Regions from separate parts of the Homo sapiens genome. Here region 1 is linked to region 2. The links are contacts of gene promoters, found by promoter capture Hi-C in human tissues and cell types (Jung and others, 2019). All regions are on one chromosome and are shown on one strand. Each heading gives the region's core, a stretch centred on a gene start or on the middle of the fragment in contact. The rest is flanking DNA. Distances are from core to core; before and after follow the strand shown. Region 1 overlaps LOC112268175 (a long non-coding RNA gene). Region 2 holds the start of DNAH3 (dynein axonemal heavy chain 3).

The links. Contacts are between HindIII fragments. The study calls those that stand out against the background at their distance.
Region 1: a fragment that was not itself captured here is called in contact with the fragment with the promoter of DNAH3 in region 2 in 1 of the 25 tissues and cell types used here (lymphoblastoid cells).

The regions. Positions count from the first base shown.
Region 1 is chr16:22,576,095-22,581,906 of GRCh38, reverse strand. LOC112268175 (a long non-coding RNA gene) reads left to right here. Exons shown (of 4, transcript XR_002957911.2): 4 at 4,248-4,443. It also overlaps the pseudogene OTOAP1. Among named protein-coding and RNA genes, the nearest start is that of LINC02890, 35 kb to the left of the region's middle. The HindIII fragment of the contact is 3,211 bases long and covers 1,217-4,427 here.
Region 2 is chr16:21,147,134-21,153,307 of GRCh38, reverse strand. DNAH3 (dynein axonemal heavy chain 3) reads left to right here and starts at 2,462. Exons shown (of 62, transcript NM_001347886.2): 1 at 2,462-2,557; 2 at 2,774-3,018. The coding sequence starts at 2,989. RefSeq lists an enhancer at 6-300. The HindIII fragment of the contact is 16,051 bases long and covers 1-6,174 here.

The DNA.
Region 1 (5,812 bases), core at 1,573-4,072, 1.4 Mb before region 2:
ATTGAGATGTACTACAAAGTCACATGGCAAAAAGCTTATAATTCTAATAAAGGAACTAAGCAGAATCACTAGGAGCAATCACCTAGTCCGCCACACATGGAGATGTGCCACAGGGACTCAGAGACTGGAAGGAATTCCCCAGGGCCAGAGTTCTCCTGGGAAACTACAGCCTCCACCATTGCCTCCCAGATTTCATCAGCATCTCTGTAGTCTGGCTCATCAGAGGCCACAACGGAGATAAAGGCAAATAAAGACTTCAGCTGCTGGCAAGCTGCAGATATCTCCATGGATCAGCCAAGCCCATGTCTCTTTCTGAAACAATCAGTAATCGGGGAAGTGACAACAGAAAAGCGTAATACAAACTACCTATGGTATTGGAAGAATCCCAGGAATCGTTGGAGGTCTTGAATGAATTTGAAGAGGGTACTCAGTTCAAGACTACTTTAAGACACACACTTTGTAGATGTCCCAACTAGACACTGTGTGGCCTGGGAATTCTGCAATGTTTACTTTTTTTCAATTATATTATGTTATAATATATTTATAAGAAATATATATCATATATAAGATTATATATAGCTTATGTATCTAAATATAATATAGATATATTATATATCTAAATATAATCTTTGATATATATCTCATATATTATCTTATATATGATATATTATCATATACATGAGTTATATGTATCTCATATATATTATTTTCTTATATATATGAAATATATCTCATATATATAAGATATGAGAGCTATATATCTCATATACAGATATAGATATCTATCTACATCTATATTCCCAGGCCACACAGTGTCTAGTTGGGACATCTACAAAATGTGTGTCTTAAAGTAGTCTTGAACTGAGTACCCTCTTCAAATTCATTCAAGACCTCCAACGATTCCTGGGATTCTTCCAATACCATAGGTAGTTTGTATTACGCTTTTCTGTATATGACATATATATCTCTCATATATGAGAGATATATATGTCATATACAGATAGATATAGATCATTCCATCACCCAGGCTGGAGTGCAGTGGCACAATCATAGTTCATTGCAGCCTCAAAATTCTGGGCTCAACTGATCCTCCCACTTCAGCCTCCTGAGTGGCTGGGACTACAGGTGTGTGCCACCAGGCGGGGGCTAATTTTTCTTTTTTTGGAGACAGAGTCTCACTCTGTTGCCCAGACTCAGATGTAGTGGTGCAATCTCAGCTCACTGCAACCTCCACCCCCCAGGTTCAAGCAGTTCTCCTGCTTAGCCTCCCAAGTAGCTGGGACTACAGGCACGTGCAACCACTCCCAGCTAATTTTTTGTATTTTACTAGAGACGAGGTTTCACCATGTTGCCCAGGCTGGTCTTGAACTCCTGAGCTCAGATACCTGCCCGCCTCAGCCTCCTAAAATACTGGGATTACAGGAGTGACCCACCCACTGCCCCCAGCCTTTTTTTCTTTTTTTTTGGTAGGGACAGGATTTCCCTATGTTGCCCATGCTGGACATGAACTCCTGGCCTCAAGTGATCCTCCTGCCTCAGCCTCCCAAAGTGCTAAGATTATAGGTATGAGCCACCAGGCCTGGCCCAATATTTCTAAAGGCCCCTCAAGAGGCAAAAGTGGGCAAAGGACTTTTAAGGACAAAAAATGCCTAGTATTGAATATTAAGTTGTTTACTGTGTTGTAACTCTCTTCCATGACTTCAGTAAAGCAGAGTAAACACACACATGCCCCAAGACACAGTAACCTCTGTTTGGTAGTACAGCCCATCACAAGCAGCTGTGGCTGAACCCCTGGGTACCAGGACTAGAGAGGATAACTTCATTGTAAGTTCCACTGGATGTTAGGCTGAAGTTGCAGCCCCCATCAAGCCAGGCTTGGTGTCTGGAGCGGGCCTGAAGGTAGAGATTCTGCAAAAGGATCTAACTGGGGTGATATTCAAAAAATTTAGAAGCCAGAATGGCACAGGTCCTGACCGATAAGAACCAGAGCCAACATGCTGTGATCTGCATACAAGTGCCAGTGATCCCTGCCTCCAGCTGAGGAGGGCTGTGAAGGATGGAGGCTAGAAATCCATCAGGAGAGCTGACATTGAAAGGTGAATGGGAGCAGCACCTGCCAGCGTGACCTGCTGCTTTCCTGCATGCAAAGGACGGTGCATTTCAACCTGAGACCCTGGGGTTCCTGCAGGGCATCAGCTAGATTTGTCTTCCTGCCTGGGATGATCACCAATTATATGTGCTGTGAGGCAAACTGTCCTCCCGCCAGAGGAGGAGGTGAAGGGATTTACAGAATCTCTCTCTGATCTGACTTATTAGAGAAGTTAAAGGACACCCGTCCAGGAGGCAGCACAGTACAGAGATAAAGAAGTCAGGATTCAAATTTGTCCTATCTGGGAAGCTTAGACAAGAGCTCCTTAACCTCTCTCACACTCAGTCCCCTCATCTGGTAAATGGGAATCCTAACAGTGCCTACCTGGCAGGAGCATGGCCACAATGAAATGAGCTAATGACACAGTGAAAGCCCTTAGACAGCCTGACCCAGAGTCAGACCTCTGTAATGGGAGTCATTATTCAAGATGGGAGGAAAGAAACAGGAATTAGATCAGAAACAAATGACCAGAAAGAGAGATGAAATACAAAAGCTACATGAAGTCGGCAGTGTGAAGCCTGACTCGCAGGAGAGTGGATTTTGTTACTGTTTGCTTTTTCTTGTCCAGGATAATCCAAGACTGGCAGAAAGTGAGAATACCGATTGAGATCCAAGGACATCCTCATGGGAGTCTGTGCAGACAGGTTTTCATCAAGAACCCCTCTCCAAGCAGCTGGTCCAGCCCAGCTAAACTGGGGGCTGCTGTTTGTAAGAAAATTAATGCTCTGGGCCAAGCACGGTGGCTCATGCCTGTAATCTCAGCACTTTAGGAGGCCAAGGCAGGCGGATCACTTGAGGCCAGGAGTTCAAGACCAGCCTGGCCAACATGGTGAAATCCCGTCTCCACCAAAAATGCAAAACTTAGCTGGGCATGGTGGCGCATGCCTGTAATCCCAGCTACTCAGGAGGCTGAGGCAGGAGAATCACTTGAACCCGGGAGGTGGATGTTGCAGCGAACCAAGATCATGCCACTGCACTCCAGCCTGGGTGACAGAGTGAGGCTCCATCTCAAAAACAAAAACAAAAAAAATTAATGTTCTGTACCTGAGGAGCACCCATTTGCTGCTACTTCCCTGCCAGGATGAAGGAAAACCAAGTCAGACATTAAATAACACGTGCAGGATCACAGGATCACACCTTTCACACTGCAGTCTTAGTTTTCTATAAAACCACGTGACCTCTGAAAATACACTCCAGCCTCTGCAACACCTACTCATGACGCTTTGTAAAATCCACCGCCTTTTAGGGACACCAAGATTTTCGGAAACATGCAGTTTTCTTACCTCCAGATGAGATGTCTACTGTGGATAGGTGACTAGGAGGAGAACCCAAGGTGTGCTGATGGCAGAACAGAAGCACCTAGGATGCCACCAGGGAAACGCCCTGACAAGCAGCTGTGATGCTGTCTTCGAGAAGGTGTTTGCAAACACCACTGCTGCCCCCCTTCCCTGAGCCCTGACTTCCTAAACCTAAGGCTAAAAGCATCCTGGCAATTCCCGGAAGTAACTTCATTCTAGCAGGATCGAGCCAGTGGGTGGAGTTTTCTCAGCCCGCCAGGATCACATCAGTGACTGACTTACCCAATGTACTTTTATTTTTTATTTCAACCAATTCCCCAAAGCCCAGAGCAACTTAAAACCAGAAGAGCCACCACCATCTCCACCAAAAACAGGGAATATTTTGAGAGTTTAATGATAACTTCACAGCCATCCATTCAGCTGAGTCCCAAGGAAATGGAAGACACCTGAAAAATGTATTTTTAAATTGATTTAACGTTGAGCCATGTTAAATGTTTTAACTTCCAACCAATGCAATGCCCACCAAAACATCAATTAGTCCCAGCAATCAGGCAAGAATATTGGCTTCTGCTCAGGGATTCATTTATTTCAGCTCTGCTAAATATCGTAGAGGAGAAATCCAATGTAGCCTGTAGCTTCAAGAAAGTGAAATTAAGCCCAAGTAGAAACTAGATGAGGCCCTGGCTAAAATGGTGCCTTTTCTTGCACTGCCTCTCTCTGGTATCTCTCTAAAGTGAGGGCAGCAACTTGATTGTAAGGGTCTCGTGCTGTTAACAGAAAACACCCTTCCTTCCCCACAGGTTCTCTGTCTCCAAGCTGGAAAACAAAAGAGGCTGCAATGGGACAGAGAAGGGCTTCCTGCTGAGGAGATGAGTGGGCTTAAGAATTTGCAAGATCAAAAATCAAAACAATTAAACCCATGGAGATAGAGTAGAAGGAGAGTGAACAGAGGCTGGGAAGGGTAATGGGAGAGTTGGTGGGGAGGAGGCAGATGGTTAACGGGTACAAAAAAAACAGAAAGATGAGTAAGACCTACTTTTCCATAGCACAACAGGATGACTATAGTCAACAGTAATTTTTTTTTTTTTTGAGATAACGTCACTCTGTCACCCAGGCTAGAGAGCAGTGGCATGGTCTCTGCCCACTGCAACTTCTGGCTCCTCAGTTCAAGCGATTCTCCTGCCTCAGCCTCCCGAGTAGCTGGAATTACAGGCGCACACCACCATGTCCAGCTAATTTTTGTATTTTTATAGAGATGGGGTTTCACCATGTTGGCCAGGCTGGTCTTGAACTCCTGACCTCAGGTGATCCACCTGCTTCGGCCTCCCACAGTGCTGGGATTACAGGCATGAGCCACTGCACCCGACCCTATAGTCAATAGTAATTTAATCGCACATTTTAAAATAACTGAAAGAGTACAATTGGATTGTTTGTAACACAAAGGATAAAGGTTTGAGGTAATGGATACCCCATTTTACATGATGTGATTATTACACATCGCATGCCTGTATCAAAACATCTCATGTACCCCATAAATATATATACCTACTATGTACTAACGAAAATTAAAATTTAAAAAAATTAAAAATAATTTGCAAGATCATTTTTAATAATTATTTTTCATTTGGGGTGCATTTTCACCATCAAGGCCCCAGGGTTTCCCTGCCCTAGATGAGGGTCTGGATCCAGGGAACGGTGTCCCACCATCTGGAGCATCCTGTCTCTACACACGTTGGCCAGCTGCTTGGGGCAACACAGGACGATGTGCTCAGGCCACTCACCACAGGAGCTTGGCCATTAGAACCAGCAGGGGACAACCAAGCCAAAGACCCCACGACTGGAGAGCTCCTAAAAGCAAATACAAAATAAGAGTACACATGAAGTTCTGGCAGCAAGCAGAAGGTAGACACATCATGTCCAACTCCCCGAGTCTCTCTCTGGGGCCACTTGATGCAGAGCCTTGATTTGTTCGTCTCTTAAATGGGAACAATGACCCCCAAAGAGGAGGAGGGGTGGGGGAGTGAGAATTAAATGAGATTGTGTCAGTCAGCATGTACTAGGGAGCTTGTTAGAAACACCAATTCCAGGATCCCCTAGAGATTCTGATTTAGCAAGTCTGCCAGGAGACCCAGGAATTTGTTGTATTTTAAGCATCTCTCCCAGGTGATTCTGATAATTAAGCAACTTTAGGAAAGAAAAGATTAGGGCTCTGGTCCATAGGAAGGGTTCATCCAATGGCAGCCCTCACTTAGGCCCTTGGGGTGAATGAAGGAGGGGCATCCAGGATCTTGCCCAGCCAGGGACATGCAGGGAACATCTTTTTAAGGGGCCCTCATCACTTTCTGACACTGCTGTTTCAAGGGAA
Region 2 (6,174 bases), core at 1,213-3,712:
GACCCTGAGCTAGACACAGGGTGCTGATTGGTGTGTTTACAAACCTTGAGCTAGATACAGAGTGCTGATTGGTGTATTTACAATCCCCAAGCTAGACATAAAGGTTCTCCAAGGTCCCACCAGAGCAGCTAGATACAGAGTGTCGATTGGTGCATTCACAAACCCTGAGTTAGACTCAGGGTGCTGATTGGTGTATTTACAATCCCTGAGCTAGCCATAAAGGTTCTCCACGTCCCCATCAGACTCAGGAGCCCAGCTGGCTTCACCCAGTGGCTCCTGCACCGGGGCTGCAGGTGGAGCTGCCTGCCAGTCCCGCGCCGTGGGCCCGCACTCCTCAGCCCTTGGGTGGTCGGTGGGACTGGGCGCCGTGGAGCAGGGGGTGGCGCTCGTCGGGGAGGCTCGGGCAGCACAGGAGCCCACGGAGGGGGTGGGAGGCTCAGGCATGGCGGGCTGCAAGTCCCGAGCCCTGCCCCGCGGGAAGGCAGCTAAGGCCCGGTGAGAAATGGAGCGCAGCGCCGGTGGGCTAGCACTGCTGGGGGACCCAGTACACCCTCCGCAGCCGCTGGCCGGGGTGCTAAGCCCCTCATTGCCCGGGGCCGGCAGGGCCAGCTGGCTGCTCCCAGTGCGGGGCCCGCCAAGCCCACGCCCACCCGGAACTCCAGCTGGCCCGCAAGCGCCGTGCGCAGCCCGGGTTCCCGCTCGCGCCTCTCCCTCCACACCTGCCTGCAAGCTGAGGGAGCCGGCTTCGGCCTTGCCCAGCCCAGAAAGGAGCTCTCACAGTGCAGCGGTGGGCTGAAGGGCTCCTCAAGTGCCGCCAAAGTGGGAGCCCAGGCAGAGGAGGCGCCGAGAGCGAGCGAGGGCTGTGAGGACTGCCAGCACGCTGTCACCTCTCACTATGCAATGCTTTTCATAGGAACTCGGGAATGTTTGTGTTCTGGACAGGTAGGTTATGGAAAGAGCAGTGGACTCGGGGTCATCAGGACAGGTTCCAATTGTATCAGTGCTACTTATGAGTCAAGTCGACTTAGGAAAGTTATGTATCTCTCAGTTTTTTTGTTTGTTTTTCTTTTTTTTTGAGATGGAGTTTCGCTCTTGTTGCCCAGGCTGGGGTGCAGTGGCATGATCTGTGCTCACTGCAACCTCCCTCCCAGGTTCAAGCGATTCTCCTGCCTCAGCCCCCCAAGTAGCTGGGATTACAGGCGACTACCACCATGCCCGGCTAATTTTGTATTTTTAGTAGAGATGGGGTTTCACTATGTTGGCCAAGCTGGTCTCAAACTCCTGACCTCAAGTGATCCATCCACCTCAGCCTTTCAGAGTGCTGGGATTACAGGCATGAACCACCATACCTGGCCCATATCTCTCAGTTTTGATTCCTTATCCTTAAAATGGGAATATCGTGGTGTTTGGGGGGAAATTGAATGAAAAAAAAAGATATGCAAGCATGGCACCCCCAAAAAACTCATTAAGTCTAACTTGGTTTTGAGAGAACTTCACAGTGACCATGGAACATGTGCTTTTAATATTCGGGCGGCAGCTAATATTGTTACTTTTGAGTATGTGCACATGTATTTCTGTGTTTATCGTAATATTGATGTTAGCCACAACATTTATAGAGCATTGACTGTGTTGGGTGATCAAACTATCCCAGTTTGCCCAGGACTGAGATTGCTCCCAGGATGCAGGACTTAGTGTTAAAATGGGGAAAAACTGGGCTGGGCGCAGTGGCTCACACCTGTAATCCCACACTTTGGGAGGCCGAGGTGGGCGGATCACGAGGTCAGGAGATTGAGACCATCCTGGCTAACACGGTGAAACCCCGTCTCTACTAAAAATACAAAAAATTAGCTGGGCGCACTGGTGGGAGGCTGAGGCAGGAGAATGGTGTGAACCCGGGAGGCAGAGCTTGCAGTGAGCTGAGATCACGCCACTGCACTGCAGCCTGGGCAACAGAGCAAGACTCTGTCTCAAAAAAAAAAAAAAAAACGGGGAAAAACTGGGAAAATATCAGTTATCCTTCTACTATATGCAAATCGCTCTGTACACGTTATCCCGTTAACCCTTCAAAGCAACCCTATGAAGTAGGGACTCACATTATTGCCATTTTACAGACGGAAAGGACACTTGGAGAGATTAAACAACTTGCCAAGCCACACAGCTAATTAATGAGAAGAGTAGGATCTGAAGTATGACCTGTCCAATTGTAGATCCCAAGAACTTAACCACCATACTCTGTGCTTTTCGACGTCTCCAAAGGTCTTTTATTGCTGTTGCCTCTGTTATTCCTGGAACATTGCTAAACACCTTCCCATGTTCCCTTCTGTCACCAACACTTCCTGCTGCCCACCTGGGCCTCCAGCAAAGGGAGACACCAGCTCACAGAGCTAGGTCATGCCCAGTCTTGTATGTAGGCACCGCAGAGGCCCCTCCTTCCCTTAGCAACAGACGCTGAGACATGGTTACTGTGCCCAGCGCCTGCATACAAGCACTGCCAGTGTTAAGAGTCCAGGGAGGAGGAGGGAGAACAGTTCGGGCTGCCAGGATGTTGTTTGGAGGGGTGAGTCTCCCTCTTCTCTGTATTAATGTGTAACTCTGCTTCAGTCTTTCCTCTGCAGTGAACTCAGTGTGTTTCTGGAAAATTTCCAAGAGAGAAGCACTCAAGGGAAAGGAAGCGTGGCCACCGCTGGGGGACTAGGAACCAGAGCCAAAAGCGCAGCAGAAACCCAGTGCTGTCCCCTTATCTCTAGCTTCCCTTTCTCTCCTTTTTTACCAGGGAACTCCTCAGCGGGCCAAAGTCTATGACCTCAGAGAGGCAACCTCATGAACAGAGCTTTCAGAACATCTGGAAAGTTCCATTGTTGGTGTCATCCCCATTATGCTATAAGGAAGTGTGAATTTCAGACCAACTGGATAGGAGAGGCACATCCCTGGAGAAGCTGAAAGCTCTTTATTCATTTTAAAAAAATAGCTACAATTAGAGTGGACACCATGGGTGACATGGATTGCTCATCTCAGAAGGTAGGTGTGAATTTTAAGACGTTTCTTGTTTTACCTGTATTTTTTTTTTTTATTTTTTATTTTGAGACAGAGTTTTGCTCTTTGTTGCCCAGGCTGGAGTGCAATGGTGTGATCTCGGCTCACTGCAACCTCCGCCTCCTGGGTTCAAGTGATTCTCCTGCCTCAGCCTCCTGAGTAGCTGGGATTACAGGCATGTGCCACCACACCTGGCTAATTTTGTATTTTTAGTGGAGACAGGGTTTATCCATGTTGGTCAGGCTGGTCTTGAACTCCCGATCTCAGGAGATCCGCCTGCCTCAGCCTCCCAAAGTGCTGGGATTACAGGTGTGAGCCACCGTGTCTGGCCGATTTACCTGTATTTTTAATGTGTTGGGAATATGTGGGAAGAGGGCCAATTGGCATGTTAGATGCCCTTGACTGAACAAGTGTATTCATCACATTTTTTTGTTGTCTGCTTTGAAATATCATTTTTGCTGAATTAGACTTTTGGAAATCTTCAAGTTTTGCTGTGAAAAATCCGGGAATAGACACCCGTTCTTCCCTTTCCTTCCCTTCCAAGCCCATTAGACCATATATTCCAACCATCAGTTTTTGACTGTGGCTGAACATTAGAATATTCTGGGGAGCATCTTAAAAACATAGAGTCTTGGTCCCCCACTCCTAGATTCCGATCCAGAAGATTTGGAGTGGGGCCCTGGAATCTATATTTTTATCTAAGACCAGAGTGATTCTGGTGTAGCACGTCCTCAGACGAGCATTTGGGAATGGCCTCCATGAAGAACATACATACAACATGTGTAATCAGCAATAAGCTGCCCAAAGTGACAGTTCTACCCAATCTAAGTTCCAGAATTTCTGTTGTATCTGTGTTGAATCACCAGGTTGCCATACAGCGAAGTGCCCAGAGGAGCATTTTAAATAGAAACTTTGTAAAACTAAAGTGGATTTGTAGATAATAACTAAGCCAATATGCTCTGAAGTGAAAGCTCCTTGAAATTTACCAAAGAGAAGATTTAAGCATTAATTTCTTTCTTTCTTTTTCTTTCTTTCTTTTTTTTTTTTTGAGACAGTTTGTCTCTGTTATCCAGGCTGGAGTGCAGTGGCGTGATCTTCACTCACTGAAGCGTCTGCTTTCTGGGTTCAAGCGATTCTCCTGCCTCAGTCTCCTGAGTAGCTGGAACTACAGGTGTGCGCCACCGCCTGGCTAATTTTTGTATTTTTAGTAGAGACGGGATTTCTCCATGTTGGCCAGGCTGGTCTCGAACTCCTGGCCTCAAGTGATCCACCCGCCTCGGCCTCCCAAAGTGCTGGGATTATAGACATTAGCTACCACGGCTGGCCAAGCATTCATATTTTTAACAAACAATTTTGCACAACCAGCTAGTTCTTATGAGAATCTCGATCTCTTGAAGGTGCCACAGAGGATTCTTAGCCATTTATTGCCAGGAAAACTCTTTTAGCCCCATTCTGCAATTGATGCCTAGATCTGCTCATGTTGTGTGTGCCCCATGTGTTCCTGATCGACAGACTGGGATGCTTTCTGCTATCAGCGTACTTATGACTGTTTGTGTATTTGTTTTAGTCCAAGCCTATGACATAGCCTAGTTTAATTTGTTTCTACAGAGGTTCTCCCTCTTTCCATTGTGTTCTGCAAAATGCTCACGGTTTGCTTTCTTCATTATCCCGAGAACAGCGTCCCTGTCAGTTTGCATGATGCAGTAAGGAAGCTGAGGCAGGAGAATCGCTCGAACCTAGGGGGTGGAGGTTGCAGTTGTAGTGAGCCAAGATTGTGTCACTGCACTCCAGCCTGGGCGACAGAGCGAAAACTTGGACTCAAAAAAAAAAAATAAATAATAATAATAATAATAAATAAGTCACTGACTTAGAAGTCAAGCCGGCCAATTACATGGCTAGGATGTGTTACCTATCTTCTCACCCTCATTTTCTTCAGCTAGAATGCGGGTATGAAAAAAATCTCATGAGGTTGTACAGTACCTGGCACATAATCGTTTGGAATAATGGTAGATAGTATTGCTGCGGTTGTTGTTTTTCTGTTGTTATTTAATGAGGTAGGTGCTCCGGGAGAGATAATGATGGTTAATTTGAGTCATCTTTAAGGGGTTGGGGGCAGAGGGACAGCTAATAGTCATATGCCCCCTGCCCCATCCCACCCTCATCAGTGATCTTGCATGTCATAATTTGCACACCCAAATAAATCACACTGATACGATGTTGGCTCATCTTATATAGGAGTTAAGTCCAAAGTCAATGCCTAAGGTGAAAATCACAGAGAGTCAAAATTGCCCTTGAAAATCCCTCAAACCACCTTTAAAGTGCTGAACGGCAGCACCTCTCAATAAGTCCAGGCCAACAGCTTTTCTTCTAGTGTTGGAACAAGTTGCAGTTTCTCCATCACTAGTCCCAGGTGAAGTGGTTGTTTTGCATATAGGGGCTAAGTCTTAAGACAAAAACACATGTGATTTCATTCAATAATGTAGTCACTTTCTTCTCTGCTCAGGAGAGGTGGAGGGTCACTTGGAATCTGAGAGTGATTGTGGGAGCCACAAGTTGACCCTTACCTGAGGCTCACTCCACAGTATGCACTCACTGGTTGGAATGGAGTACTCAACACCCACATTGTTGAAATAACACTTTTTCTTTTCGCAGGAATCATAAAGAGTTGCTTATGTGTGTGTTAAATACACAGAAAATTCAGTGCCACTGCCTGAGTGAATTTCTCTTTGGAATTTTGCACATGTGAAAATGCAAGAGTCCACCTGGTGGAGTGGCTTATGCCTGTAATCCGAGCACTTTGGAAGGTCGAAGCAGGTGGATCACCTGAGGTCAGGAGTTCAAGACCAGCCTGACCAATGTGGTGAAACCCCGTCTCTACTAAAAATATGAAAATTAGCCAGGCATGGTGGTGGGCACCCATCCAGCTTCTTGGGAGGCTGAGGCAGGAGGATTGCTTGAACCTGGGAAGCAGCAGTTGCAGTGAGCTAAGATCGTACCATTGCACTCTAGCCTGGGTGACAGAGTGAGAGACTATCTCAAAAAAAAAAAAATGCAAGAGTCAATGTTTTTAAAGTCACCTCCTTTAATCATACCTGAGGGTAGGGTACTGGGGATGTCCTCAGAATTTGGGCTCTTCCACGG